7 separate regions of the Homo sapiens genome follow, and all the other regions are linked to region 1. The links are contacts of gene promoters, found by promoter capture Hi-C in blood cells and fetal thymus (Javierre and others, 2016). All regions are on one chromosome and are shown on one strand. Each heading gives the region's core, a stretch centred on a gene start or on the middle of the fragment in contact. The rest is flanking DNA. Distances are from core to core; before and after follow the strand shown.

Region 1 (3,910 bases), core at 766-3,265:
CGGCTCACTGCAACCTCTGCCTCCTGGGTTCAAGTGATTCTCCTGCCTCAGCTTCCTGAGTAGCTGAGATTACAGGCGTCTGCACCACGCCCAGCTAATTTTTGTATTTTTAGTAGAGACGGAGTTTTGCCATGCTGAGCCTCCACTTCCTAGTCTATAAAATGAAGATGATAAAACTCCATCATATTTAGAATTACAAACAGGATGTATAAGATAATCCTATCTGCCACGTTGGCCAGACTGTTCTGAAACTCCTGACCTCAAGTGATCCACCCACCTGGGCCTCCCAAAGTGCTGGGATTACAGGCGTGAACCACCATACCTGTCCTAAGCTTTAAATAATACAACTAAAATCTAGAAGTAAAATGTTTAGATTGAGTGCAGTGGCTCATTCCTGTAATCCCAGCATTTAGGGAGGCAGAGGTGGGAGGATCGCTTGAGGCCAGAAGTTAGAGACCAGCCTGGGCAACATAAGGAGACCTGGTCTCTACAAAAACAAAAAAAAGCTGGGCTTGGTGGCCACAGCCTGTAGGCTGAGGTGGGAGGATGGCTTGAACCCAGGAGTTTGAGGCTGCAGTGAACCATGACCGAGCCACTATGCTCCAGCTCCACCCTGGGTGACAGAGCAAGATCCTGTCAAAAAAAAAAAAAAAAGTTAGAAATAAAGAAAAGAAAATGCTTACATATTTATTTAATTTATTTTGAGACAGTCTCGCTCTGTTGCCCAGGCTGGAGTGCAGTGGCGCGATCTTGGCTCACTGCAACCTCTGCCTCCTGGATTCAAGCAATTCTCCTGCCCCAGCCTCCCGACTAACTGGGATTACAGGCACCCGCCACGACGCCCAGCTAATTTTTGTATTTCGAGTAGAGACGGGGGTTTCGCCATGCTGGCCAGGCTGGTCTTGAACTCGTGACCTCAGGTGATCCTCCCCCCTCAGCCTCCCAAAGTGCTGGGATTACACGCTTGAGCCACTCGACCAGGCCTATTTATTTTTTTAAACCAAGGGCTGGATAGGATTTGATCCGGGCTCCAGATAAAGGACTCCTAGGGAGATACCCTGGTTAGCAGAGGCAGTTAGGAGGCTACTAAAAATAGTTCAATCTAGAAATAATTAGGGCCAGAATTGTCTCCAGCAGCGGGCGGGGGTGGGGCTGGGGATGATTTGGGTAGTTATTTTGTTCTCTTCCCAGCAAGTAATTTCAGAGCAGCCCAGAGATTCATTTTCTAAACAAATGATGTTTTTCTCCCAAGACTGACAAGGATCAGACAGACCTAGGGTTGCCACTAGCACCTAGTATCTTTCAGGCTGTTTTCTTTTGTTTTTAAAGTGGATTAAAAGCTTTCAGCCTTACCTAAATCTTTGTTGCAATTGTACAGATCTGCCTAGATTTATAGCAGATGGTAGAACAGAAACAGTTCCCGACGGAATTAATCATCACATTATTAAAACAAATTTTCGAGCATTGACAAATCCCTTCGGGGTTGTCCTCCGAGTGGGCAATTCGTAACCAGCTTGGGGCGTGCTAAGATTGTAAACGTTCCTATGGAGAGCGATAACAAAGGGGCAGCAGTGACTCCGCACACAGAATTCCAAGAATCACCAGCATTCCATGTGTTCCAAGGCTAGCACAGTGCGCGCGAGGTCCGCTTTTTTAAACAGCGCGGAATCACGTGGCCGACAGCCCGCGGCGCTACTGGCCCTCGGAGTCTCCCTCTTGGCTTTGGCGCGGAACCTTTCCCCCTTTGTGGACGCGACCATTGGCCCCGCGCTCGGAGGTGGTACGGACCAACCCTACGGTCATAGATTTTCCGAGTGAAGCTTTTGACTAAGTCTCAGGAAAGCGTTAGCTACAGAATTCTAGATTCAAAAGAAATCCACCAAAAAACGCTGTGGAGGACTGGTTTTGCCTAAAAGAAAGAGCAGACCTGAACTTGACTCCTCCTACGCCCTGTGAAGGCTGCAAGGTGGTTCCGTCCGAGGCGCGGACTCCGCCCCCACGAGCGCCGCCATTTTGTTTGGCTGAGGGGAGCGAGCGGCGCTTTGGGGGAGGGGTCGCGTAGGCGCCTCACCTGACCCTGCGGCCGTGCGGTTGCTGCTCCGGGGCAGGTCTCCTTCCAGGCCAGGGGCCCGGAATCATGTACATAAAGCAGGTAAGGCCTTCGCGTCCCTCCACCCCGTCATGGGCCGGTAAGGGCCGCTCCTTGAGGCGGGAGTGTTGCGGCGCCACCCGCAGCCTCTCCCCTGTCTCCACAGGCTGGACCAGGGCTGGGCGGGGACTGTGGGGGAGGAGGGAGACCCGGGTCCCGCTAGTGCCCCGGCTGCGGGGTCGCGGAGAATTGGGGCACTCCTTTGCAGCCCCGGCCTCCCTGCTGGCGCTTGTCTGGGAGAGGCAGGATCTCCGAGAGGTGTGGAAGGGCCGGCGGGCGGGCCGCTGGGAGGGACTGGGCCTTCCTGGGTGGCCCCAGAGCTGGCGGGGGGCACCCCGCCGGGGCGGCCGCGGGCGGGAAGGGCTGTGTGGTCCTGCAGGGGTGGCCTCACACGGCCCATGTGCCTGGGATGTGTGGAAAGGTGGCTTCCCCGGCCCGGGGGCGGCCCTGGGGGCATTGGCTGGGGTGTCGTCACCTGTCACTGCGGGGAGCCGTTCTTCTCCCCAGTTAACCCGCGAAGTGAGCGGGACCCTCCTGCTTGCAGGATACGGAGCGCCGCCTCCCTCGGTTGTTTACTTCTGTCAAAATGGTCTTCCCGCGCGGGACTCCACCACAAAGATGAGCCCAGGCACACGGCCTTGGAGACGGTTTTCTGTTGGGTCTGTCGGGCTCTGAGCACTCCTTCTTTGGAACGTGGGTTCTTTCAGGCTGGCCGGCGTGAGTGACTGAAAGCAGCACTCGGTGGTCTTGGAGTCAGGAGAGCTGGGGCCCGTCGGCCTGCTTTTATAGACTTGCTATTGTACTGCAGCGTTTAGGGTTCAGTTAAGCTCACACAGTGTTTTTGATTTTGAAAGGTCCTTAACAGGTTGACAGCATAACTCCTAAAAAAAAATAAAACCCAGCAGCATTGCCTTGGCAAAGATTACCGATAAAAGTACCTTTTTTTTTTTTTAGCAGATTTTTAATCACCACTTTCCAAAATGAATTTTTCTTATATGAAATTTCGAGTTTTCTATATTGCATTAAATGAAAAACAAGAAAGAAATGCAAGAGAAAAATGTTAATTTTTTTTGTGGGGTGGGTTCTCAAAAATGTTTTTTATTTACTAGGTGATTATCCAGGGTTTTCGAAGTTACAGAGATCAAACAATTGTAGATCCCTTCAGTTCAAAACATAATGTGATTGGTAAGTGTTCTTGGTTTACTCGGTCATATTTATAGTCTATACAGATAATGTAAATTCTGTCCATTTCTATATTGGCTTAAGGAGACAGGAATTGTCTTTGAATATTAAGTTATATTTTTCTGCGTGAAATAACTTTTCTGTCTTATTGCACTGATGAATTGCTTATTTTTATAAACTTAAAATGTTTGGATAAGACACTCATAAGTTATCCATTTTTTATCTAGGTAGCCTTGTATGTGTGTGTAAGAGTGTTTTAAAGCATTTCCGCTCTTCTGTTCTTGTTATATATCCTAGTGAAAATGCTGACTGTTGCCTTATTTCAGAGACAGACAATTTTTATTCACAAAGTAGATGCCAGGATTCCCCCCCCACCCCGGCAGTCAGTGTCTCTAAGGACAGACCATGTAGCTAGATTGGAAGAGCATAAACTTTGGAGCATAACAGAATGGGGTTCAAATCCCAGTTATAGGGGGGTGGGGGCCTGGGGGAGGGATAGCATTAGGAGAAATACCTAATGTAAATGTCGAGTTGATGGGTGCAGCAAACCAACATGGCACATGTATACCTATGTAACAA
Region 2 (3,949 bases), core at 685-3,184, 470 kb before region 1:
TTATTGTACTATATTCGCCTATTTTTGAACAGTGGTTGACCACAGGTAACTGAAACTGCAGTTAAGGAGGGGAACTACTGTATTGATAAAATGTTAGTGAGTACTTTTTAATATTTAATGATGTACTTAAAACTTGTCCCTTTGGTATTTAGGTCAAATAAACCACCATTATACAACTACCCCACTTGTACATCTATTTTTCTGTGCATGCTAGGCAAACGGACCATTAAGTCTATTACAAGCACTAGAATTTTAGTTCTTCTTAATAGCCTGTTCCTCTCAGTGGATGGTATTTATAAAATACATCCATAAACATGGCGTGATGGGTCTGTTTTCTTTCTTATATTTCATTGAAGGAGTAAATTTTGATTATGGGGCAATCTGGATGACATGGTAATGCTAATAAACATCATTATTATGATTTTATAATATGATATTTGAGCAATGTAACTTTAGAAAAGTCACTCAACACCACTGAGTATAGTTTCCTCTCATCTGTAAAAAGTGATCATTGAATCTAGTCTGAAATATTTCAAGAGAAGCTCATATAAAATCAATAGCCTTTTAGGAATAAGAGCCTAGTGCTTTGTGGGATAATTAAGTTTTTCTCCATTTGTGCACTTAGTGCCATCTGTATTACTCAGTGCTGCTCAATGCCAGGTTCATTTGGGTTTTTTCTCCCATTTTTCTTCATTTTTATCTATTTCTGCTTCAAGTTTTCAGATCTGTCAATTTCCATGTCAGTTGTATATAAAATTTTGGCTAGCATTTAAAAGCAGCTCATGTCTTTTAGAACTTAAAATGAAGAAAATTTCACTAGTGATCTAAGGATAGTAGCTTGTCATAGTTTGTGTAGGGTCTAAGTTGTTTTCTAGAACTTCAAATAACTTTAAAATTTCATAGTAACTTTCATCAAGAAAAACTGAAATAGCATTTGTTGTTTTGTTTTTTAACCAAATATGCTGCTTTGCGGTCTTGGCATATCTTTGATTATTCTTTGAAGTGTGGAAAAATAGGTCTGGTAGTTGAAAGTACAGCCATCTCTTTGCTTATTCTAAAGAAAGCTATTCAAACTGCCAAGAATTTTAAGTTTGGAAAGATTTTTTTGTAAGTAATAACTTCTTTTCAAAAGATTGTTTTTACTATTCCCAGCCTATAAATAATGCAAACCAGATTTATTTGGAAGGAGTTGTGATATAGTAAAGTAACTTAATTCAGCCCCCATTTATGGAGTTCTCGCCCATTGTGAGGACTACAAGAGAGTCCCCATTCCCAAGCTTGCAAGGTGGTCAGTAGCTTCTCAGGTTGGATTTTTAAAATAACAGTTTTATGGAGATAATTCACATACCATGCCATTTGGCCATATAAAGTATACAATTCAGTGGTTTTTAATATAGTCACAGAGTTGTACAACTATCACCACAATAATTTTAGAACATGTTCATCACTCCAAAAATAAATCTCATTGGCGGCCACTCCTCATTTTCCCATAGTGCCTGGCAGCCATTAATCTGTTTTCTACCTCTATAGATTTGTCTTTTCTAAACATTTCATATAAATGGAGTCATACAATATGTGGTCCTTGGTGACTAGCTTCTTTCACTTACAATGTTTTCAAGGTTCATCCATGCTGAAGCACATATCAGTATTCCATTTCCTTTTATTGCCATGTAATATTCCACTTTCTGGATTACCATATGACAAAATACTATACTTTGTGTTTGTCAGTTGATAGATGTTTGGGTTGTTTCTACTTTTTCCTGTTAATGAAAAAATATGCTATAATTTTATAATAGTCAAAGACGAGAAATAACCAGTTGTCTTTGAGTAGACAAATGATTAAACAAATAATGATACAGCCATACCATAGAATAGCATTCAACAGTAAAAAGGAACAAATTATTGATATGACAGCCTCCACAAATGTTCAGTAAATGATTGAGTGAAAAAAGCCAATCCCCAAAGGTTTTATATGTTGCATATTTTCATTTGTATAATATTCTTTAAATGACAATTATAGCAATAGAGAATGGATTAGTGGTTGCTGCTGATTAAGGAGGGAGTGGAAATGGGCATTGCTATTAAAGGGCAGCATGCGGAGTACTTCTGGTGATGGAAATAATCTCCTTCTTGACTATATTACTGTCAGTGTGCTGGTTGTGATACTGTAATATAGTTTTGCAATGTGTTGCCATTGGGAGAAACTGGGGAAAAGGGCATAAGGGATGTCTGTGTTATTTATTATAGATTATTATATAAAAATATTTTTTTGGAAAAAAACAATACTCAGTTGGCTCTTTCAGCATTCTACCTAGAAATCTTAGTGAGCTCCACATTCGTTAAGCATGTTTTCTAGTTTTCAAGTTAACACATTCTTGTTAGTTTGTGCTCTCATTATGCAACATAACCCTCTCTCCAGTCTCCAGTAGCAGTCTCCTCACTGCCTTGTCAGCCTCCACTAATAGCCTCCCCACTGCCTAGGCCCCAGAGCTAATGCCAGGTTTTCAGTTTTTGTTATTACAGCACCAGTAACACCAGTTTTCACTTTAGTTATCTGTTGCTGTGTGAAAAACAGAAACAACAACAAAAACAAAGCTTTGTGTGTTTAACAATTTATTATTTCTCATGATTCTGTATGTTGACTGAGTAGCACCTTACCTGCTTTTACCTGGACTCATTCATGTTGCGATAGTTAGCTGGGGGGGGTCTGCTGGGAACCTGGCTTACTGGGGACAGCTGGGCCTCTTTCTCCTCATTTTTCATTATGGGCTTCTTCATGGTGTGGCAGCTGCACGACCCTCAAAGTGTATAATGTCACTTCAGCCACATTGTTTTAGTCAAAGCAAATCACAAGTCCAAACCAGATTTAAGGGATAGGAAAATAGTCTCTACTTCTTAGTGGAAAAAGTAGATCGCAGGGAAGCATGGAAGAATTCTTGAGGCCGTCTTTGAAAAACGATGTACCACAGAGCCCAAATCAGGAGTCCAGCTCATCTAGAGGCATCTAACAGGTAACTCAGGTGGAAAGGGCTCTACAAGTGGACCTGAATACAAGCAACCCAGATTGTAAGATAGGCAAGAATGGCACTAGCAGTGCTGGTGAGCTCAGAATTGAACATAGGGGTATTTTTCTCAGTCTGTGAACACTTTGGGTTAATTTGATAATGAACAGCTTTACAAAATACATGGTATGAGCATATGTCAGATACTGTTTAAGTATATTAACAGTTATACAATGTTACTACCTCTGTTACTTTGAGTTTTGAGGGTTCTTATATTAATCTAAGTGGATTGGGAATATAGCTTTCATATGTATGACTGTTTTTGTTTAATAGCTCAGGTATTGTTTGGGGGTTTTCTTTTTGTAAGTGTGTTTTGTATCCTATCTTACCTGTGAGCAAACTTTTAAAAATTCTTTGGTGAGGAAAGAACATGGTATACTATAAAATTCAGGAGGGCCCTGAAAATTGTGGTATTAATATTTTCCTTTGACTGTGTTGAGATTGGATTTGTCTTATATTGGATTAATGTTTATGTATATATTTTGGATTTTTTGTGCTTTGTTTTGAAATTATTTCAGACTTACAAAAGAGTTGGCAAAAATAGTGAAAGAATTCCTGTTTGTCCTTTACCCAGATTCCCTAAATGATAATATCTTCCATAACCATGTTGTAATTATCAGTTTCAGGAAATTAACATTGATGTAAATACTATTATCAAATTTACAGATTCTATTTAAATTTCACCAATTGTCTCACTGATGTCCTTTTCCTGGTCTAGGATCTGATCCAAGATTACATGTTGCATTTAATTGTCACGTCTTAGTCTCCTTTGTCTTCTTTAATCTGGAACAGTTCCTTACAGTTCCTTAGTCTTTGTTTTTCTTTTTTTTTTTTTTTGAGATAGAGTCTCGCTCTGTCACCCAGGCTGGAGTGCAGTGGTGTGATCT
Region 3 (3,860 bases), core at 1,361-3,860, 330 kb after region 1:
GTTTTTTTGTTGTTGTTAAAGCTAATAATGAAGCTTATAATGTAATAATATAAATGTTTAGTAATAGCTAAACTTTTTGCTTGTGTGGGTCAGTTTTATATAATCTTAAGTTCTTATAATTTTTTATCTGGAAAATTTCTTAAGCTTTGATATTTTTAAGTGCATTGTAAGAATTAAAAGTCAGAAAAATATTTCCTGGTAGGGGCCTTTGCTTTAGAATTTTAGAAGCCATTAAAAGAGAGGGAAAAGAAAGTGATGAAAGATAGTTTAATAGCTTTACTAGAAATGTTTGGAAATACAGACGTTAGCTTGGTGATGGCAGGATTTATGTATGGATGTGCCAAGTGATATACATCAGTAAAAACTCTGAACTTTGGCCTTCTTATTATTGACTGCTTTTTCATTCCCTACCTTGGTCTCATACAGTCTGAAGCCTTTATGTTCAAGATGATGTAGCTGTTTTCCACTTAGACTTAATATGAAAAGGGGCCAGTACCCTGGCATTGGCTTTTTGAAAGTTTTTCAGCCTCTGTTTGAAAGTCTGATTGTTTCTGTGTGGCTTTATTCTCAAGGGTCACATGAGGCAATAAACTTTCTGTGTATACATACCATACAGCTTTGACTTGGGTCCTTCATCTTTTAGCCTATTTGGGTAAGGTGCACATTTGTGTGTGGTTTTGCATGCTTGTGCCTATTGGCCTGGGGTCAGAGAGTAAGGGCTAATGTTGCCTAAGTTCTATTTCCCACTTACTGCTTTAGGCCACTGGCCAGCTGTTCCTTCTGGGCTATTGCCACTACATGTAGGTAAGAGTGTGGTTACATTATAGAGCAGGGCTTCTTGAGTTTGACAAAGCACGAATCCCAAAATGGGGCATAGGCTGTAATTCTGATTTTTTTCCACATTCAAGTTATGGCTTTTCTACAGTTGATAAAACATTTTTTTTTAAATTGCCAAACATGGATATTTTGATAGGTTGCACAGCTCCAGTTTGCATAATTCTGAATTATGTTAGTGTTTCCTATTTGGCTTACTGTTAAGCTTACAAATAATAATTAGAAATTAATTAGAAATAATTTTAAATTTCTAAATAAAATGTTTTAGTTTGAGTCAACTTTTTTTAATGTGACTCTGTTTGGATAGTGAACTTATTAAAACAAAAACTCAGATTTGATATTGATGTTTTATGCTAAGATATATAGTAGGGAGTCTTTTCCAAAGGAATTAGAGGCATGCTTTTTTTTTTTAATGGAAAACCCTTTAAAAGCTAACACGTAACGAAAAAATACCAAGTTTTTAATTTTTTTATATATTGACTATAGTCAGAATTTGTATCTGTTTTCATGTCTTTTTTTTTCTTCATTACAGGGGCAGAAAGCGTTTTGTAAGCGAAGGAGATGGAGGTCGTCTTAAACCAGAGAGCTACTGAATATAAGAACTCTTGCAGTCTTAGATGTTATAAAAATATATATCTGAATTGTAAGAGTTGTTAGCACAAGTTTTTTTTTTTTTTTTTTTTAAGCACTTGTTTTGGGTACAAGGCATTTCTGACATTTTATAAACCTACATTTAAGGGGAATTTTTAAAGGAAATGTTTTTTCTTTTTTTTTTGTTTTTCGAGGGGGCAAGGAGGGACAGAAAAGTAACCTCTTCTTAAGTGGAATATTCTAATAAGCTACCTTTTGTAAGTGCCATGTTTATTATCTAATCATTCCAAGTTTTGCATTGATGTCTGACTGCCACTCCTTTCTTTCAAGGACAGTGTTTTTTGTAGTAAAATCACTGGTTTATACAAAGCTTTATTTAGGGGGTAAAGTTAAGCTGCTAAAACCCCATGTTGGCTGCTGCTGTTGAGATACTGTGCTTTGGGAGTAAAAAAAGAAAGTTATTTCTTTGTCTTAAAGAATTTTTAAAAAATTAGTCATGAGACTTATTCATCTTTCCAGGGAACATACTGATTGGTCTTAAAAGACTAGACAGTTAAGTAAAAGGTGGCTGGAACATCTATTTTTCTACAAAACTGGAAAAATGAACCTGGTTCTAGAAGAATGTACACCAAAATAAAACATGTGAAGCAGTATTGATTCTTTATTGGGAGTACATTTTTTTAGGTCTCTTAAACTTTAATTTCACACAGTAAATTTTGAATCTCATAAGGAAGCATATTTGAACCTAGTCAATTTAATCTTAGTGTTCCCTTGAAAACTTTTTTTCCCTACAAAATTTTAAGTGAAAAATACAATAGTAAATTAAGATTACACTGGGGAAAAAAATGCAGGTATCACTTTACTCCATTGTTATCTGACCTAGAGCTTAATTAAGTTTTAGAAATATGTAATACCTTCCATCATTCCATCATCCTTAAATTCTGTTACCAAATAATGGCTAATGTTACAAAAAGTTATACTCCAGAGACCCAAAGCTTGACATTTACCTAATGTATGAGAAAATATTACCAATTAACAATAAAGAATGATCATATTTTTAACCTCTTTTACATAGCCTAATAACTCAGCAAGGCCTCAACGTCTGTGCTAATTTAAACTGCCAAATATTGACTGCAGCAAACAAGAATTATATTCAGAATTTATGAGGGTACTGTTAGGAGTATACTGCTTACAGGTTTAGATATAGTCTGTTAGAATTAAAACCAAGTTTAGTGTTCATATTTACCTCATGGGCTTTATCAAGCCCATATTACCTCAGCTTATATATAGTTACCATTTTTAGGTTTTTAATTGTTTGACACTTGGATGATAAATGCAGTCATTTTATTCTCAAGTGCTTAAAATTAATGTAATTAAAAGCTTAGCTGACTACAGAATAGGTGAGGGTTTCTTAAAAATGAGATTTAAGGGCTGGGCACGGTGGCTCATGCCTGTAATCCCAGCACTTTGGGAGGCCGAGGTGGGCGGATCACTTGAGGTTGGGAGTTCATGACCAGCTTGACCAACATGAAGAAACCCTGTCTCTATTAAAAATACAAAAGTAGCCAGGCATGGTGGCGCATGCGTGTAATCCCAGCTACTTGGGAGGCTGAGGCAGGAGAATTGCTTGAACCTGGGAGGCAGAGGTTGCAGTGAGTCGAGATGGTGCCATTGCTCTCGTTTGGGCAACAAGAGTGAAACTCTTGTCTCAAAAAAAAAAAAAAATGAGGTTTAAGACAGTTTTGTCATTACTGGTGGGATCTGGTCACACAAGATAGCATTAAACGTGACATGGCACATAAAATTGGTTAAAAAATTTTGTTTTTTAATTACGTAATGTAAAAGCCCAACAAACACTTTATGCAAGATTGGAATGTATCTTCAAATTCAGATTTAATAAACATGTAAAGATCCTCTGTATATAAAAGTTGTATTTAATCCCTTGTGCCCAAGAATGCTATAAAAGATCCCAAGAATGTTATCTATAAAAGATAGCAATAGGAATGGTGAACAAATAATTTAATTTGCAATTCTAAAAACATGACTTAAACCCCATAAAACTTGGTTCATAGTTTAACTGTTTATGTTCAATACAAACCAGAGTGTTTACATTCACAATACAAATTTCATCAATCTTGGATATTTTTGTATTTCTATGAATACTATCAATTTTATTGATAACACATACTACTTTCAGCACACAGAAGCATATTTTCTAGTTATTGTTAAATAGTAGATAAGGCAGGTTGTTCCCTAAAGTGCTCAGTTATCATTCAGTGGGTTATTTGCCGTTGATCCTTTTCTGCCATTTCTTGTTGGCGAATTGTATTCTGTGCTGCTTGATGCATTTTCTCTAGTTTTTCCAGAGTCAGAGATTTTAAGGGTAAAAGTTTGGGTTTACACAGCACCATTGTCATTATATCTTCCACAAACAG
Region 4 (3,675 bases), core at 976-3,475, 450 kb before region 1:
TCAGCTGGTATGAGTATAGGATCTGACCTTAGTATTTTATCTTTTCCATGACTACTCCTAGCCACTGTCATCAGCTTACAGAGTGACAGGAGCTACCTTGGTTCTGGGTGCTTGCTGCAATGTTAGCAAATAGAAGTTTTCTAGCCAATTCTATACATGCCAGACTTGTTCAGACCTCCGATGAAGAGCTTAAGTTTCTCCTTTTCTTGGAAACTGTACTTCTTGCCAAGTACCAAGTTTTGTTGCACCTGTTTTATAAATAAAGTTTTATGGGAACAAAGCTATACCTGTTAACTTACAGATTGTTTATGGCTGCTTTTGTACTGCAGCTGCAGATTTGAGTAATTGCAGCAGAGGCCCACAAAGTCCAAAATATTTGCTATCTGACCTTTTACAAAAAGGTTTGCTACCCCCTGGTTTAGCTTGTGAAACACAAACTTTGATACGTATATACCAGTTAAATATGTCCTTCTGATTTTTTCCAGGTGAAAGTCAATATAATAGGAGAAGTGGTTGACCAGGGAAGTACCAATTTGAAAATTGACCATACAGGATTCAGTCCCCATGCTGCAATCTATTCAACACGTCCTGATGTTAAGTGTGTGATACACATCCATACCCTTGCAACAGCAGCTGTAAGTCAATGAAAGTCCAAAACTGACAGGACGCTGGAAGATGTATTATTTTTGTGGCTTTCTCAACAGGATGCTTTACTATCTGCTTTTCAAAATCATATTTGATACAATAATCTGCATACCCAGAAAGCAAAAGGCCTTTGGGACCAAATGCTACCATTCTAGGAAACAACTGGAGAAATAACATTTGGATTCTAAAACTAACCAGTTTGAAAATTGGGTCATTGAGTTTTTTGGAGCAAAGCTTCTTTCATAATATTTGACACAGCATATAAGTTGAGTTGTATTCCCTAAGTCCTTTTTGTGTGTGTGTGGAAGAAACAAAATGGGAAGTGAATAAAGTGGGAAGTGGGCTGCAATGGTGAAACACAGTGAATAGGCCAGTGTTTTCCTGAGCTGACCAAACAATCAGGTTCCTATGAAAATGTATTTAGTAACCAAATGTGTTATCTTGGTATGGGCCAAACCAAATAGGTATCCTCCATGAAATGTGGGATCCTTCCAATTTCTCAAGAGTCTCTTCTTCTGGGAGATGTTGCCTATTATGACTACCAAGGGTCACTTGAAGAACAGGAGGAGAGAATTCAACTGCAGAAGGTTCTGGGACCAAGTTGTAAGGTATGTAGTAGAGTTTGTCTAAGGAGCTATTTTTGTTGCTGCTGCTGTTGATGAAAACAGTGTGAGCTATGCCAGTTATTTCAAGTGATTGCTGTGGGCATTCTATTTTAGGTGCTGGTACTCAGGAATCATGGTGTGGTTGCACTTGGAGAAACATTAGAGGAGGCTTTTCATTATATTTTTAATGTGCAACTAGCCTGTGAGATTCAGGTAGGAAACATTATTCCCCTTTTTTAATTGCTTTGTTATTTGCTCGTTTAGTTGGATTTTGTGTACTTATTTGCAAATACATATTAGTTAGTGGCTTTTTGTCTTTTAAGAGAAGTTCTGCTCTACTTATGTAGGCAGGGTTTTCAACTCAGTTATCTCTTGAATTGAAAATAGGAGTAAAGGAAATTAAAATTTTCTCACACACAATCTAAGGGCCTCATAAACATCATTTTCCCTACAATCCTGCTTTTTAAGTTAGTACAATTGCATATTTCTGTTTTCACCCTGTAGTGGTGGTACTAATTAAGGAAGAAAAACAGCTGCAAATCAAGAATCAAATGTGTTGTGGTCACTTTTGTAAAAAGTTTGACTAGGTCCAGAAGTTATATGAAATTGCAGTTTTCAACAATTCCACAGCCTCATTATGATGAGAGGTTGGATATTTATTAATCATTTTTTTCATCAGAGATGTTGAATGTATTTAAAGGCCCTAATTTTCTTTTTCTTTTTCTTTTTTTTTTAATTATACTTTAAGTTTTAGGGTACATGTGCACATTGTGCAGGTTAGTTACATATGTATACATGTGCCATGCTGGTGCGCTGCACCCACCAACTCGTCATCTAGCATTAGGTATATCTCCCAATGCTATCCCTCCCCCCTCCCCCCACCCCACCACAGTCCCCAGAGTGTGATATTCCCCTTCCTGTGTCCATGTGATCTCATTGTTCAATTCCCACCTATGAGTGAGAATATGCGGTGTTTGGTTTTTTGTTCTTGTGATAGTTTACTGAGAATGATGATTTCCAATTTCATCCATGTCCCTACAAAGGACATGAACTCATCATTTTTTATGGCTGCATAGTATTCTATGGTGTATATGTGCCACATTTTCTTAATCCAGTCTATCATTGTTGGACATTTGGTTGGTTCCAAGTCTTTGCTATTGTGAATAATGCCGCAATAAACATACGTGTGCATGTGTCTTTATAGCAGCATGATTTATAGTCCTTTGGGTATATACCCAGTAATGGAATGGCTGGGTCAAATGGTATTTCTAGTTCAAGATCCCTGAGGAATCGCCACACTGACTTCCACAATGGTTGAACTAGAGAGCCCGCATCGCCAAGTCAATCCTAAGCCAAAAGAACAAAGCTGGAGGCATCACACTACCTGACTTCAAACTATACTACAAGGCTACAGTAACCAAAACAGCATGGTACTGGTATCAAAACAGAGATATAGATAAATGGAACAGAACGGAGCCCTCAGAAATAACGCCACATACCTACGACTAGCTGATCTTTGACAAACCTGAGAAAAACAAGCAATGGGGAAAGGATTCCCTATTTAATAAATGGTGCTGGGAAAACTGGCTAGCCATATGTAGAAAGCTGAAACTGGATCCCTTCCTTACACCTTATACAAAAATCAATTCAAGATGGATTAAAGATTTAAACGTTAGACCTAAAACCATAAAAACCTTAGAAGAAAACCTAGGCATTACCATTCAGGACATAGGCATGGGCAAGGACTTCATGTCCAAAACACCAAAAGCAATGGCAACAAAAGACAAAATTGACAAATGGGATCTAATTAAACTAAAGGCCCTAATTTTCTCTTTAAATCAAGCAGATTTGGCCAGGCACGGTAGCTCATGCCTGTAATCCCAGCACTTTGGGAGGCTGAGCTGGGTAGATCACCTGAGGTCAGGAGTTCGAGACCAGCCTGACCAACATGGAGAAACCCCGTCTGTACTAAAAATACAAAATTAACAGGGCGTGGTGTCATGTGCCTGTAATCCCAGCTACTTGGGAGGCTGAGGCGGGAGAATCGCTTGAACCCGGGAGGCGAAGTTTGCAGTGAGCCGATATCGTGCCATTGCACTCCAGCCTGGGCAACAAGAGTGAAACTCAGTCCTCAATAAATAAATAAATAAATAAAGCAAATTCTCATGAAGCAAATGGTAATAATCTTAATTTATTGGAAGGGCCACAAGAAAGGGGGAAAAGAACAACTAAAAAAAAACTTTTTCTACCAACATTAACTTGTCCTAACAATCAACTTATTTTTGCTTTAATGGTTCCTCCTCTTCTCAAATGGGGCTATGAAAAGCTTAATTAAATTAAGATAATGAGCTGATGGCTTCTGCCTAAATATCTTTAAATTCAAAGTACAGTGTTTTTGTATTTCCTTAAAATTATAGCTTTTAGC
Region 5 (3,804 bases), core at 415-2,914, 320 kb before region 1:
CTCAAAGTTACACAGCCTGTGTGAGTGACAGAGTTAATATTTAGATTCATGACTTTCTTTCTCTAACACCATGGGTCTTTATGATCTTTTTGTGTTGTTTGCTGGTTTTGCTTTGGACTTCACAACTCGACTTGTTTGCTTATCTTATCCCTTCCACTTGGAATGGCATCTCCTTAACAGTTTCAGACTCTACTAGTAGCAAATGTACCTATTATTTAAGCCTTAGACCAAATGCCACCCTTCTAAAGCTTTTCTTACAGTGCCATTTGGAAGTAAACTGTCTCTTTTGAGCTCCCACAATACTTTGTACCTTTCTTTGTATATTTATTTTGCCTTCAGTTATAATTATTGCTAAACATATCTTAATTTACCCAATGGAGACTGTCTTTGATTTCCTGTAGTGTAAGACAGCCTTGAACACTGAAGGTACTCAGTATTTGTTGACTTGACATTACAGGTAAAAACCCATCAAAATAGGAGTAAACACTATTGATGCTTTTGTAAAAAAAATTGGAAGAACATGGCAACATGGTAATGATTTGTATATTTATGATCATTTTTGCTTCTCGTTATTTGAAAATCTTGCTAAATTTTGCTGGTGGTATAATTAAATGTGGCATGCATTTCCTGGTTTGGTGAAAAGGTTCATAATCTTAGCTATCATTTTCTTTAAAAAAAGATAATAAAGAAATGTCTGTTTGGCAGGCAGGAAGAACCTGCTGTTTTAATTTTGTTCACAGCAGTGGGTCAGATTATGATCTTTTGGAGCTAGCTTTGATAATAGACTCAATATAATATTGGAATTCAACAATTGGTTATTGTTGAGTATATTATCTCTTGCACTGATGGCTGTCAGTGGGATTGCCAGACTGTTTAGAATAAGTTTATGGCTGTTTAGAATAAGTTTATGGCAAATAGTCTGCTCTTCTCTAAATACAATGTTTCCATTTATTACTTACTGTAGTATTTTATATGTGCATTGTCTTTTTGTTTTGTTTTTAGTTTTCTTCTCAGAGAGAGGCAATTAAACCAAAACTTGCTCACCAGTGGGGGTGGGGAATCTTACTATTGATTATTTATTCAAATTTTGAATTATATTTTTTCTTCTAAACGTCTTTAAATAGGCCTTTTCCCTCTTCTAACTTGACTGATTAACATTTAATTCAAACAAAGATTAACAAAATTTTAAACACTTTTATGGTGATAAAGGCACACTGTGGTTATAATTTATTGAATTTTGAGCTCCGAGTCTCTGTTAAACTAGGATTTCTGACTGTGCTTTTATAGTTTCTTCTATCTGAATTCTTGAAACATCATAAGACTCTATTTACTTCCCTCAAAGGAGAAGTCCTTTTGTTAAGATAATATTTTTAAATGAATATCAGTCTTTTTCATTTCATGTCTCTTGGACTTGATGAAATTACTCATGAAGCAAAAGGTGGATAGGAGACAGTAACTCAAAGAAGTCTTTTGGCCCTTAAGCTAAGACAGTGGGTAAAAGTTACACAAATTATGAGACCAGCAAAAGCACTCTTAATTTTAAGGTTTGAGAATCTGATTATTAAATATCCATTGAAATAATCAGATTAAAGCCATAAATATTCTTTAAGCATTTGACATTAACCAGAATCTACAAAATGATTAAAGTTTTAGTTCTAGTGACAGGAATTTAAATTCTCCTTCATAAAATTCCTGTTGTTGTTAATGTTAAGTTATTGCAAAAGTAACACATGTTAATTCTAGGGAACTAGTATAACAATTCTAATAGTAGCTAACTTTAGAGTTCATTATATTTTGCTATTTAGCATAAACCTGTTAGTCCTTATAACAATCATATGAGGCAAATACTGTTATTTTTCCTATTTCATAGATGAGGAAACCGAGCACAGAGAAATGAAGGGACTTTACTGAGGCCATACAGTATTTGGACTCAGGCAGTTTGGCCTTAGAGTCTGTGCCCTTAACCTCTGTTCAGTATTGCTTCTCACTGAGTGGTTAAGATTTGGGGATTGTTAAGATAGACCTGGATTGAAATCATGGCTGCCACTTTATACTCTTGGGAGAGGAGTATATTTCTTGACTTCTCTGAGCTTCAGTATTCTTGATTATAAAACAAAGGTTGTTTTAGGGATAAAATAAGATATATTAACTGCTTATCCCACTGTTCCCCAGATGCTGTGCTTGTTCAATAGAAGGTATCATTTAAAACAAATAATGAGAAACAAAAGGAAAAAAGTCACCAAAACTAAACAATAACCATTGCTAACATTTCGAGTTATCCAGTCTTGTAAAACACGTTTCTTGATTTTATTAATATATTTTTTCTTTATATTAATTTTCTTTCATGTATAACTTTTTCTTGTTTTTGTTTCACAAAATAAGGTGGGAAGACTTGGATTTGCCTGTATCACTAAGCAGTAACGCAAGCCTTTTTCAGCTTCTATGCTAGCCAAAACTTTTTTTTCTCTGTTTAGAAGTGGGTAGATGGAGATAGAGGAGGACATGGAAGTACACCCACTTTTTTTTTTCCTTTTTAAATAAAAACAGGATTATGTTTAAAATTTCTTATATAACATCTGCAGATCAACAAAATCTAGGATGCTAGAAGTAGGGAGAACATGTGCTAGTATTACTTTTATTAAAATAACAATGAAACTCCAGTTTCAGACTGTTAAGAGTTGTTAACTGAAAATACTATATTTGTATAAACAATCCTAATGAATGTAGACTATTTCCTCTCGATGAGTGAGCTTGTAGAAGTCTGACCATGTGTTGCATTGTTAAATAAATTCACTAGGTGTAGCATAGCAGTAACTAATCTGTCTTTCTATAGCTTTAGCAACAAAGCATGGCTAATGCTTTTTTTTTTTTTTGTCTTTTAGATCTACACACAATGAGCTGGAAAAGAATCGGTGAGTCAGTGATGAGGTACAGCTTTCACTTACGTTTAAAAGCAAACTCACCATTTTACCTGTGAAAATAATGTAATAGTGCATATGTAGTTGTAATTTTATTTTTCAGATGTATAGCCCATTGTGAATCTGATATATATGTATTTTCTCCAAAAAATGATTTAATAGTAAGCTTATAGCAGCTAGAAGACATAAATACATTTTTAAAGCTTACTCGAATTTGAGTTTTAGGTATAGCCTTTATTTCTGTCTCTGAAAATGAGTTAATTGTTACAAGCTCATGGTTTAAATGTAGTTTTGCTAAAGGGTAGGATTTCTAAAGAGTAGGTAATAAGCATTACAAATTGGAGGGCATTGAATTTTTCTTCCTTTGTAATTTGTTCATTCATTCATTCATTTATTCATGCATTCAACAACTATTTATCAAACATGAGCTGTATGTCAGTGCCAGGCAGGCAGAATGCTTTATATAGGAAATACAAGAATATATATGATAGTTTTTGTCCTTAAGGAATTCAGAACTTTGTAAGGGAAAGACAGGTAATTAAAGTACTATATAATGTGGTAAGTATGGTAATGGAGAAGCAGAAGGTACTAGAGGGTACTGAAAGATATTTTAGAAGGTCACCTGATACCTTTTTGAAGGGAGTCTTGGAAAGTTCTGCAGAGGATGGTGAGTGAGCAGTGTATACTGAGGAAACTGCAAAAGGTTCAGTGTGACTATAAAAGATTGTAACATGAGTAAAGCATGCCAGGTGTTGAAGAGTCTTGTCTACCATGCCCAAGAGTTTAGACTTCCTGAGACCCATAGGGAGCAGTTAAATAATTTTAAAGTGGATTATCATATGATCAGCCTGTGTCTTGGAAATATCGTTTTGGCTACAGCTTGAAG
Region 6 (3,914 bases), core at 631-3,130, 350 kb before region 1:
AGGAATCTCAGAGGTGTGCTGAGGATTAAATGAACTGACTGGAGGAGCAGCACCGTGCATGTTGGCCCTAGTTATGTGGCAGCTAGTAGGCAAATGGATGTGTATTGTTCTAGGATCTAGGGACAATCCCAGCTTCCTCAAATCAAAACACTATTGCTGGAAGAGCTGGTGAGATCAGCTATACCTTGGACAGGCAAGAGAATGGTATTTTTATTATAAGTGCTGCATCTGAGGCTGAGAGAACGCAGATACAAGGCAGCAGGAGCTGGTTGTGTGGTTTAGTGTTCAGGGCCTGGCTAGACCTAACTGTGACCTCCACAACTTTCTGCTGCCTGGAAAAGGGTGGTGATGCCAAGGGGTGGGGGCAGGGCAACTCGAGGCCAGCTCCTGGCAGGGGAGGGAGGGTTACCCAGGGCTTTGGCAAGAATGTGGGGCATCCTCTTAGCAGCAGGAGAAGGCCTTAAAAACAAGTTACATCTAACTTTGAAAGAACAGACTATTGCAATACCAACATCTAGGAAACACAACAAAAAATACAGTTTACTTTTGCTTTCAAATATAGATGCAGAAATCCTAAACAAAAATATCAACTCTTGGAACTGAACAGTGCTTCAAAACAATAACACACCGTGGCTGACCAGGTTATTTGCCAGATATTGCTGAAAGTCACAAAATCTACCAGCATAAATGATTACAGGCACAAATTAAAGAATAAAATGTGTTTACACTAACAAATGTTGAAAAGTATTTGGGAGGCATTTCTAATGAAGAAAACTACTTCGGCACAACAAAGATTGTTTCCTGTGGTGGTCTTTTAATTATAGTGGAAGGGTGAGGTTGGGCCCAAGGTTTGCGGTCATCACCAGGAGTGAAGGAGTTGACTCTGATGGCAACCTTTCCTTGGGGAAGAATGAACCATAAACAGAAAAAAACAGCATTTGGATCCTTTGGGAATGCAACTTCGTCTTGATATTTAAAGGAATGGGCCCCACGGGTTTAAAAAAGCCTGAGTTCTAACCCTTATTCCATCAGTTTGATAGACAGCTGTTGGCCTTGGGCAAGTTACCATACCTCTCTGAGCCTCAGCTTTCTCAAGTGAAAAATGGGGACTGTATTGAGAAACAAGCTTAATGACACAAACTTCTATGACATAAACCTTGAAATGTTATTTGGGGAAATATTCACTTGGCATGGCCCTAGCAAAATCCTCCCAAATACCTTATCAGTAGCACCCTGGTGTCACCCCAAGTGGGGTGCTCCAAAGTAAGCAAGCCGCTTAGATGTGCATGTTAATTGAGTCCTGCAATGCAGATGTCTTCTTGGATCCAAGTTCATGCAAAAAAGAAGGAAAAGGACATTTGAGAGATTAACACATCCATTATAATCACTGAAATAGGCTGCTGTAATAAGGGCCATTTAATAAAATGTAAGAAGCCCTTTTCTAAGAGGGAAGAGATGGGTCAGGATGGAAGTCAAGTGCAGCTGTTTGAGCATTTGCCAGTGGTCTGATCTCACCAGTAAAACTGGAGTTAAAAAGCAACAAACTTCCAGATTCAGCCGTCTCAGATAAACACTGCCTCCCCCTGGCGTTCCCCCCACCCCATGTCCTTTCCCTTTCTCCCCAGCTCGGGCAGCACCTGAGTCGCTTGGTGCGTTTCCGTGTGGTTGGGATGTCAGCCGGCAGCCCTGGCGACAGGAGCCCTGGGAGGCGGCAGCTACCTCTCGGGTTTAGCATTACGTCATCCCTTCTAGACCCAAATTTATCTCGGCTGCACACAGACCCGCAGCTCTGAGCTGCCGCTGACTTGAGGAGAGCTTACGCATGAACTTAGGCAAGGCTGACTCACTGGGCGAGGGAAAGGTTTTCTGCTGTTCTTCACGTTTCTGGGCTCTGGGGGAAGAGGAGGGGAGGAGGCTGCAGTAGTCATTTTGGGATGGGAGATGGAAAAATGTATAACTGTTAACGGTTCTCATTTAAGAGCTTAGAGTTCACCTCCCGTGTCCCCAGTGTTGATTATTTGAAAACGCCCATCCTTAAAGATAATTGCAGAAAACAGTGCCCTACTCAGTAAACACTTTGCAGTTTCAGGGAAGTTCTCCTAAGTGCAAGGTGTCATCAACACAGTAACTTTGGACTTGTAACTTAACCTCATGGCCCCTTCCTCTCTCCCCATCTCGCCTCCCTGAAGAAAAGATACAACACATCAGCCTCCATTGTTTATGAATCTGCAATAAATCACTTGGAAATTGTCACTAAGTAAACTGTGCTGAGAAAGGACCCTTAAGAATTGAGGGCTTTGCCTGCTTCCTTCAGAAGGCAGATTGTCCCCATCCGTGGCTGTGATCGTTATAGGCCTGGGGTATTCTGGGGGACTTTCTCCATTTTCAAATGACTCCCTTGAGAGAGAGATATACTTTAGGGAGAGGACAGAACAGAGACTATGGGTAGGATTCCAGGTTCTTATGTCAGTAGACTTTGGAAGCCTTGCTTTTCCTGTTTCCCCATCTGCATTTGTAGTGCAAACTAGTTCATCGGAACAAAAGAAAGGCTATGGCTGCCTCTGGGTTCCTCCGGGCTGAGACTGTTGCTGAGGGATGGTTTGTGGGTAGCATTACTTTCCTGTGGATAGAGCCCTAAGCTTTGTGCTGGAGAGGCCCTTATAGCTGATGTCCAAGGAAGGACTCCAGGAGGCAGCCAGCGCAGGGAGAAGGAAGTGGCACTTCAATTGCTTTTAGAAAAGGCTGGAGATTTCTGTACATGAACCAGCCCTTAATACTGCCCACCATGATCATCATCTCTCCCCTTCTTCAATGCAGGTGGCCTTTTGGTGAGTCTCGCTCTACTTTCCATGTCCTCATCTCCCTCTTGGCCATGGCTCTAGAAGAAGGGCTCTAGGTTAGTTCACCTGGAGGTCAACTGTGAAAGGCCATGCATAGGCCCCAGGCCTCTTGCATGTAGCCATCTCTTCCTAACCAGCTATGGTTCTGTGACCTCTGGAATTAAAGCCATCTTGAATTCATGTATATTTTCAGTTTGTACTACTTTTCTTGATTGCTTGTCACACAAGTTTACCTCCTATTGAGAAAAGTAGAGTTGTATTTGTCCTGGCCAGGGACACTTTGGGAGGCTGAGGTGGGCGAGTCACGAGGTCAGGAGTTTGAGACCAGTGTGGCCAACATGGTGAAACCCTGTCTCTACGAAAATCAAAAAATTAGCTGGGCGTGGTGGCAGGCGCCTGTAACCCCAGCTACTTGGGAGGCTGTGTCAGGAGAACCCGGGAGGTGGAGGTTGCAATGAGCCGAGATCGCGCCACTGCACTCCAGCTGGGGTGACAGAGTAAGACTCCGTCTCAAAAAATAAATAAATAAATAAATAAAAAATAAATAAATTCTACCCTCAACTAACAGATGTTCTAAATGAATGGTATTTTCTTTAAAATAATCCAGTCCCACCCCTACCCAACATGGCCCTTGTTGAGGGTGAAGGGAGGTTGTTACCAACACCCAGTGGGAAAGTCCAGATCCAAAATGACCTGGGAAAGTCCAGATCCAAAACGACCTAGTCAAGAGCTAAAAGAACAGTCCCTTTTTGAAAGCCTTTACAAAAAAAAAAAAAAGTTCTTCTGTGGCTTGCGAACACCTCTCATTTTGGGTCTGCTTGCATTTGATGGAACGTCTATTTGGTCTTAAATGTGGTGCCAAGTGTAATATTTAAAAGGACTGGCAGAATTTTGCAGCTTGTGACCTCACTGGAGATTTTGTTCACTTTACCAAAAAAAAAGAAAAGAAAAAAGAAAACAAAAGGTATGAGGGAAAGGTAAGAAAACAAAAGGTATGAGGGAAAGGTATATTAAAATGCAGCATGAAGCCGATAACATTTTTAAGAGGGTAAGATTTCCATCTCAAGATGGTAT
Region 7 (3,408 bases), core at 555-3,054, 430 kb after region 1:
ATCTGTGTAACTTTGCCTGCTCCTTCAACTGATCAGATAGATATATATAGCATGATTTTCATTCGGCCTTCTTCTCTGTCTCAAATAGTCTAACAATATTTTATTATTTAATATTTTTATATATGTGTCTGTATCTCAAACTTGTTAAATAACAGTCAAAGGGGCATGCGATTAAAGTACTGAAATGAATAATCCTGGTAAACAGAGAAAGCATAGGTGGTGATATATGATACAGTCTTCTAGTAAGTAGGATTAGTGTCCTATTGGAGGTAATTCTTCTGTGTTTTAAGTGTGTTTACTAATATGAAAACATTTGATTTTATTATTAATCTCTTGTAGTTTAGATGTTATCCTAGAATAACACATATGCCTCACCTCTAGCTTATTCTATAGGGCCAGATTACAGTATTACAAATTGGAAATCAATGAGAACTGAAACATTAACAACAAGAAAATTTTAAATAACATTGCATTTACTTTTATATGCTTTGATGGTTGTCACCAAGTATAGTACAGCTGTTACTCTGAGTAAATGGCAAAGTAAATTAGTAATATTTATTGAAACTTTTTATGATATTGTAGTCATTTATCGATTACCATGTTTATTAAAATAATTACTTTATCTTTCTCCATCCTTTCCAGTCCTAGTATTTTGATGATGTAGCAGAAGATTGAGGTTTGGTGGGAAACTTTGACGTTTGGGTCTTGGTCTGTTAAAAATTTCAACAGTTTTAATTGACCTTTGAGATTTTCACTCTCATTTATTGAAGATGAAGAATTTACCCTAAGTAGTGGAAACTTAATTGAATTATGGTTCTCCTGATACTTCTCCTTTTTTAAATCCTACTCTAGTTCTGAGAAAGTATAACTTAAAATGAAAAACAAACAGAAAGCCCAACACCTGTTCTGCAGAGTTGATGCTAGTCTGGAAGCAGCTGCCCACTCTCTTTTCCTTGGACTAAAGAATCTTGCCCTAAACTTGTAACTGAAAATCAAATCTTGTATTGTCTTAAAATCACTTCCCAGAAATCACTGTATTTACTTGCCTTTTCCTTTTTTTCTTTTTTCTTATAAGTAGACCAGAATGTTTTTTACTTTTTTCTTTATTTAACATGAACATTCCTGGAGTAACTATCACTCCCCTGTGATAATTACTGCCATTTACTTCCAGGCTGAGAAGCTAGTATCGCTGACAACTCATAGGATGTGAGGAAGAGACAGAAGGAAATGGGTTGGGGATTACCAAGTTGCAGTTAAGTAAGAGAGTGCTTAAATACATATTTATAGTTTCTCTGATTTAACTGTTAGTCTGCCTTGTTGAATAAAAAAAGTATTATTTTATATGAATATTTTCTCATTCAGAAATTAGCTATGAACAGAAGAAAATATTAAGCTTTATTCCAACAGTTATTTTGTTTTAAAGTATGAACCTGATGTTTTTTAAAGCCTTCTGGTACCTCTGGTAGTTTTATGTAATCCAGGGAAGAAACAGTCCGAAGTAGGAAAAAATACTTTACTTTGTATTTCTTCTCAAAATGAGATTAGGAGAGAACTGTGCCACAAAACCTTGCCTTCAAGGCTGGAGTGCAGAACAATTCACAGAAGCCTTTTTGTTGCACTGGGCTCTGAAGAAATGTTACATTAATTATGGTTATATCAACAAGTAGCATTTTAGTCATTTTAGTAATTGGGTTTTAGGTAATTACAGTGCAGCGTATGTATAACAACTTTACTAGTTTTCTTTTTAATGGTGGTGTTCTTTGGGTTTTTAACATTCAGGAATTTCTGTGTTGCTTACTTTTCAGTTTGCTTTCAGTTTAATGTTTCTGAAAAAATAATGGTACCTTTGACATTTCATCCTTCCAACCCTGAGTCTTTCCTACTATTTTTTTTGCTACTTTGTTAAAATAAGATTATGATCATTTAAATTAGTCTTACTCGAAAGTTATACTAAATTAAACTAAAGTTGCTGGTTATATTTGCTGAAATTGAAAGAATCTAATTTTAATTCATAGCCATTTGATTTCACCATATTTTAAAAATCTGACAGCGTAAGAGAAAGCAAGCTGTCAAAGTGGAGCACAGAACAATTTGTAGACAAAGTTAAGCACTTGAAAGCTAAATGCCAGTGATTGGCAGTGATCAGCCTACGTTTATATACAGGAGCTCAGCAACAATGATTTTATTTCTTAGTCAAGATGGCTCAACATTAAAGCAAGCTTGTGTTGATTTCTAGGTTGCAGTTTAGTTTGTGGTTAAAACCACTCATTGAGAGGGGTTAGAGCTGAAACCACTGCAGAGGGTGAATCACAATAAATGCCAGACTTCTGATGTTTTCTTCTGGCGTAAAAGAGTTTTGATATTTCATCCTTAATTTTTTTAACCTTTTTTATTTAGCTGAGAGTAATGGACTTTGGCAAAATGTGGATGACTCTTTGAATTTGCCAGTGGTCTCAAGTGATAGGGCCTTTGCAAATGTGAGATTTCTTCATCAGAACAGCCTATTCTCATAGATTACATTGTTAGAAATTCAACCCCTTCCGCCCCAGCAAAAAGCAAAAAATTTAGATCCAAGAAAGGTGGAGGTACCTTTTAATTTAAATTACTACTGGTTTTGGTACTAGATAATGTCATGTAGCAATTTGGCTACATTATTTTTATTTTGTAATTTTTAAATTCTAGGAACCTACTCTGGTTTTAAAAGTGAGAAACTTAAGAGTTATTTGGTTTTGGATGAGAAATTTCAAGAATCTGGTTCTATTTACTAGGCTTTTGAGTTGACAAACATTTAGAATTTGGTTCCCCTACTAACCTTTGTTACCACAGAAAGTTTTTTAGTTTTCAGTGAGAATAAAAAACATTTAAAATATTGTATTTATCTACCATGATACTGTAAAGGGTTATTGAATGAGGCATGTCAGTTGATGGAGTAAGATCATGGAGACTTCTCTCTGTTAATAAATTCTCCCCTCTTATGGCAGACTTCAAAGACCCCTTGGTGAAAGATTCAGCCATTTTGTTACAATGGATCAACTTTCTTCCATAGGGAAAGCAGTGATGTAAAGGAGAAAAAGGGATGGTCTTGTTTACTTCCATTTTTTTTTTTAAAGGTTAGCTGCCTCATTTTATCTGCAGCTGCATACAGGAAATTAAAATTTTATCAGAAGGTTTTGAAGTTCTTTGTAATCAGACATGATCACTACTTGGAGGAAAATGTTCACTTCTGCTGGCCTTGCTGTAGCAGTGGCCATAGGAATGGAATAGGCAAGGGATAAAATGTTGATACCATCCCTCCCCATTTTACAAGGATGTGAGTAAATGGGGGCTATTCTTCACTCTTAGTGGAAATAAAAATGATATAGCCTTTTGTTATTTATTAAAATTTTAAATATCTATATCATCTGACAC

Evidence for each region. The method cuts DNA at HindIII sites, captures the fragments that hold promoters and counts their contacts. A CHiCAGO score of 5 or more calls a contact.
Region 2: a contact is called between a fragment that was not itself captured here and the fragment with the promoter of SMC3 in region 1, in 3 of 17 cell types (total CD4 T cells, total B cells and non-activated CD4 T cells). The highest score is 5.5, in total CD4 T cells.
Region 3: a fragment that was not itself captured here is called in contact with the fragment with the promoter of SMC3 in region 1 in 1 of 17 cell types (naive CD4 T cells); the score reaches 7.2 in naive CD4 T cells.
Region 4: a fragment that was not itself captured here is called in contact with the fragment with the promoter of SMC3 in region 1 in 8 of 17 cell types (total CD4 T cells, total B cells, naive CD4 T cells and 5 more); the score reaches 11.1 in total CD4 T cells.
Region 5: a fragment that was not itself captured here is called in contact with the fragment with the promoter of SMC3 in region 1 in 2 of 17 cell types (naive CD4 T cells and neutrophils); the score reaches 6.2 in naive CD4 T cells.
Region 6: a fragment that was not itself captured here is called in contact with the fragment with the promoter of SMC3 in region 1 in 14 of 17 cell types (fetal thymus, naive CD4 T cells, total CD4 T cells and 11 more); the score reaches 19.2 in fetal thymus.
Region 7: a contact is called between a fragment that was not itself captured here and the fragment with the promoter of SMC3 in region 1, in 5 of 17 cell types (activated CD4 T cells, total CD4 T cells, naive CD8 T cells and 2 more). The highest score is 6.5, in activated CD4 T cells.

The regions. Positions count from the first base shown.
Region 1 is chr10:110,565,680-110,569,589 of GRCh38, forward strand. It overlaps SMC3 (structural maintenance of chromosomes 3), which reads left to right and starts at 2,016. Exons shown (of 29, transcript NM_005445.4): 1 at 2,016-2,152; 2 at 3,259-3,334. The coding sequence starts at 2,138. LOC105378483 (a long non-coding RNA gene) reads right to left here and starts at 1,629. Exons shown (of 2, transcript XR_946318.2): 1 at 1,354-1,629. RefSeq lists enhancers at 319-1,021, 1,836-1,885, 1,896-1,995 and a silencer at 2,336-2,625. The HindIII fragment of the contact is 2,181 bases long and covers 1,819-3,910 here.
Region 2 is chr10:110,093,894-110,097,842 of GRCh38, forward strand. The region is part of intron 1 of ADD3 (adducin 3); the gene reads left to right. Among named protein-coding and RNA genes, the nearest start is that of ADD3-AS1, 87 kb to the left of the region's middle. The HindIII fragment of the contact is 1,318 bases long and covers 1,276-2,593 here.
Region 3 is chr10:110,896,662-110,900,521 of GRCh38, forward strand. It overlaps PDCD4 (programmed cell death 4), which reads left to right. Exons shown (of 12, transcript NM_014456.5): 12 at 1,367-3,345. The coding sequence ends at 1,427. BBIP1 (BBSome interacting protein 1) reads right to left here. Exons shown (of 4, transcript NM_001195305.3): 4 at 2,069-3,860. The coding sequence ends at 3,699. MIR4680 (microRNA 4680) reads left to right here and starts at 1,429; the gene lies at 1,429-1,494. The HindIII fragment of the contact is 385 bases long and covers 2,419-2,803 here.
Region 4 is chr10:110,118,102-110,121,776 of GRCh38, forward strand. ADD3 (adducin 3) reads left to right here. Exons shown (of 15, transcript NM_016824.5): 6 at 486-635; 7 at 1,110-1,253; 8 at 1,365-1,463. Among named protein-coding and RNA genes, the nearest start is that of MXI1, 88 kb to the right of the region's middle. The HindIII fragment of the contact is 2,697 bases long and covers 878-3,574 here.
Region 5 is chr10:110,241,946-110,245,749 of GRCh38, forward strand. It overlaps MXI1 (MAX interactor 1, dimerization protein), which reads left to right. Exons shown (of 6, transcript NM_130439.3): 3 at 2,883-2,912. Among named protein-coding and RNA genes, the nearest start is that of MXI1, 36 kb to the left of the region's middle. The HindIII fragment of the contact is 2,836 bases long and covers 247-3,082 here.
Region 6 is chr10:110,220,220-110,224,133 of GRCh38, forward strand. The region is part of intron 1 of MXI1 (MAX interactor 1, dimerization protein); the gene reads left to right. It overlaps LOC105378480 (a long non-coding RNA gene), which reads right to left and starts at 1,708. Exons shown (of 2, transcript XR_946315.4): 1 at 1,638-1,708; 2 at 1-1,315. The HindIII fragment of the contact is 1,513 bases long and covers 1,125-2,637 here.
Region 7 is chr10:110,991,016-110,994,423 of GRCh38, forward strand. All of the region lies in intron 3 of SHOC2 (SHOC2 leucine rich repeat scaffold protein), which reads left to right. Among named protein-coding and RNA genes, the nearest start is that of MIR548E, 3.8 kb to the left of the region's middle. The HindIII fragment of the contact is 826 bases long and covers 1,392-2,217 here.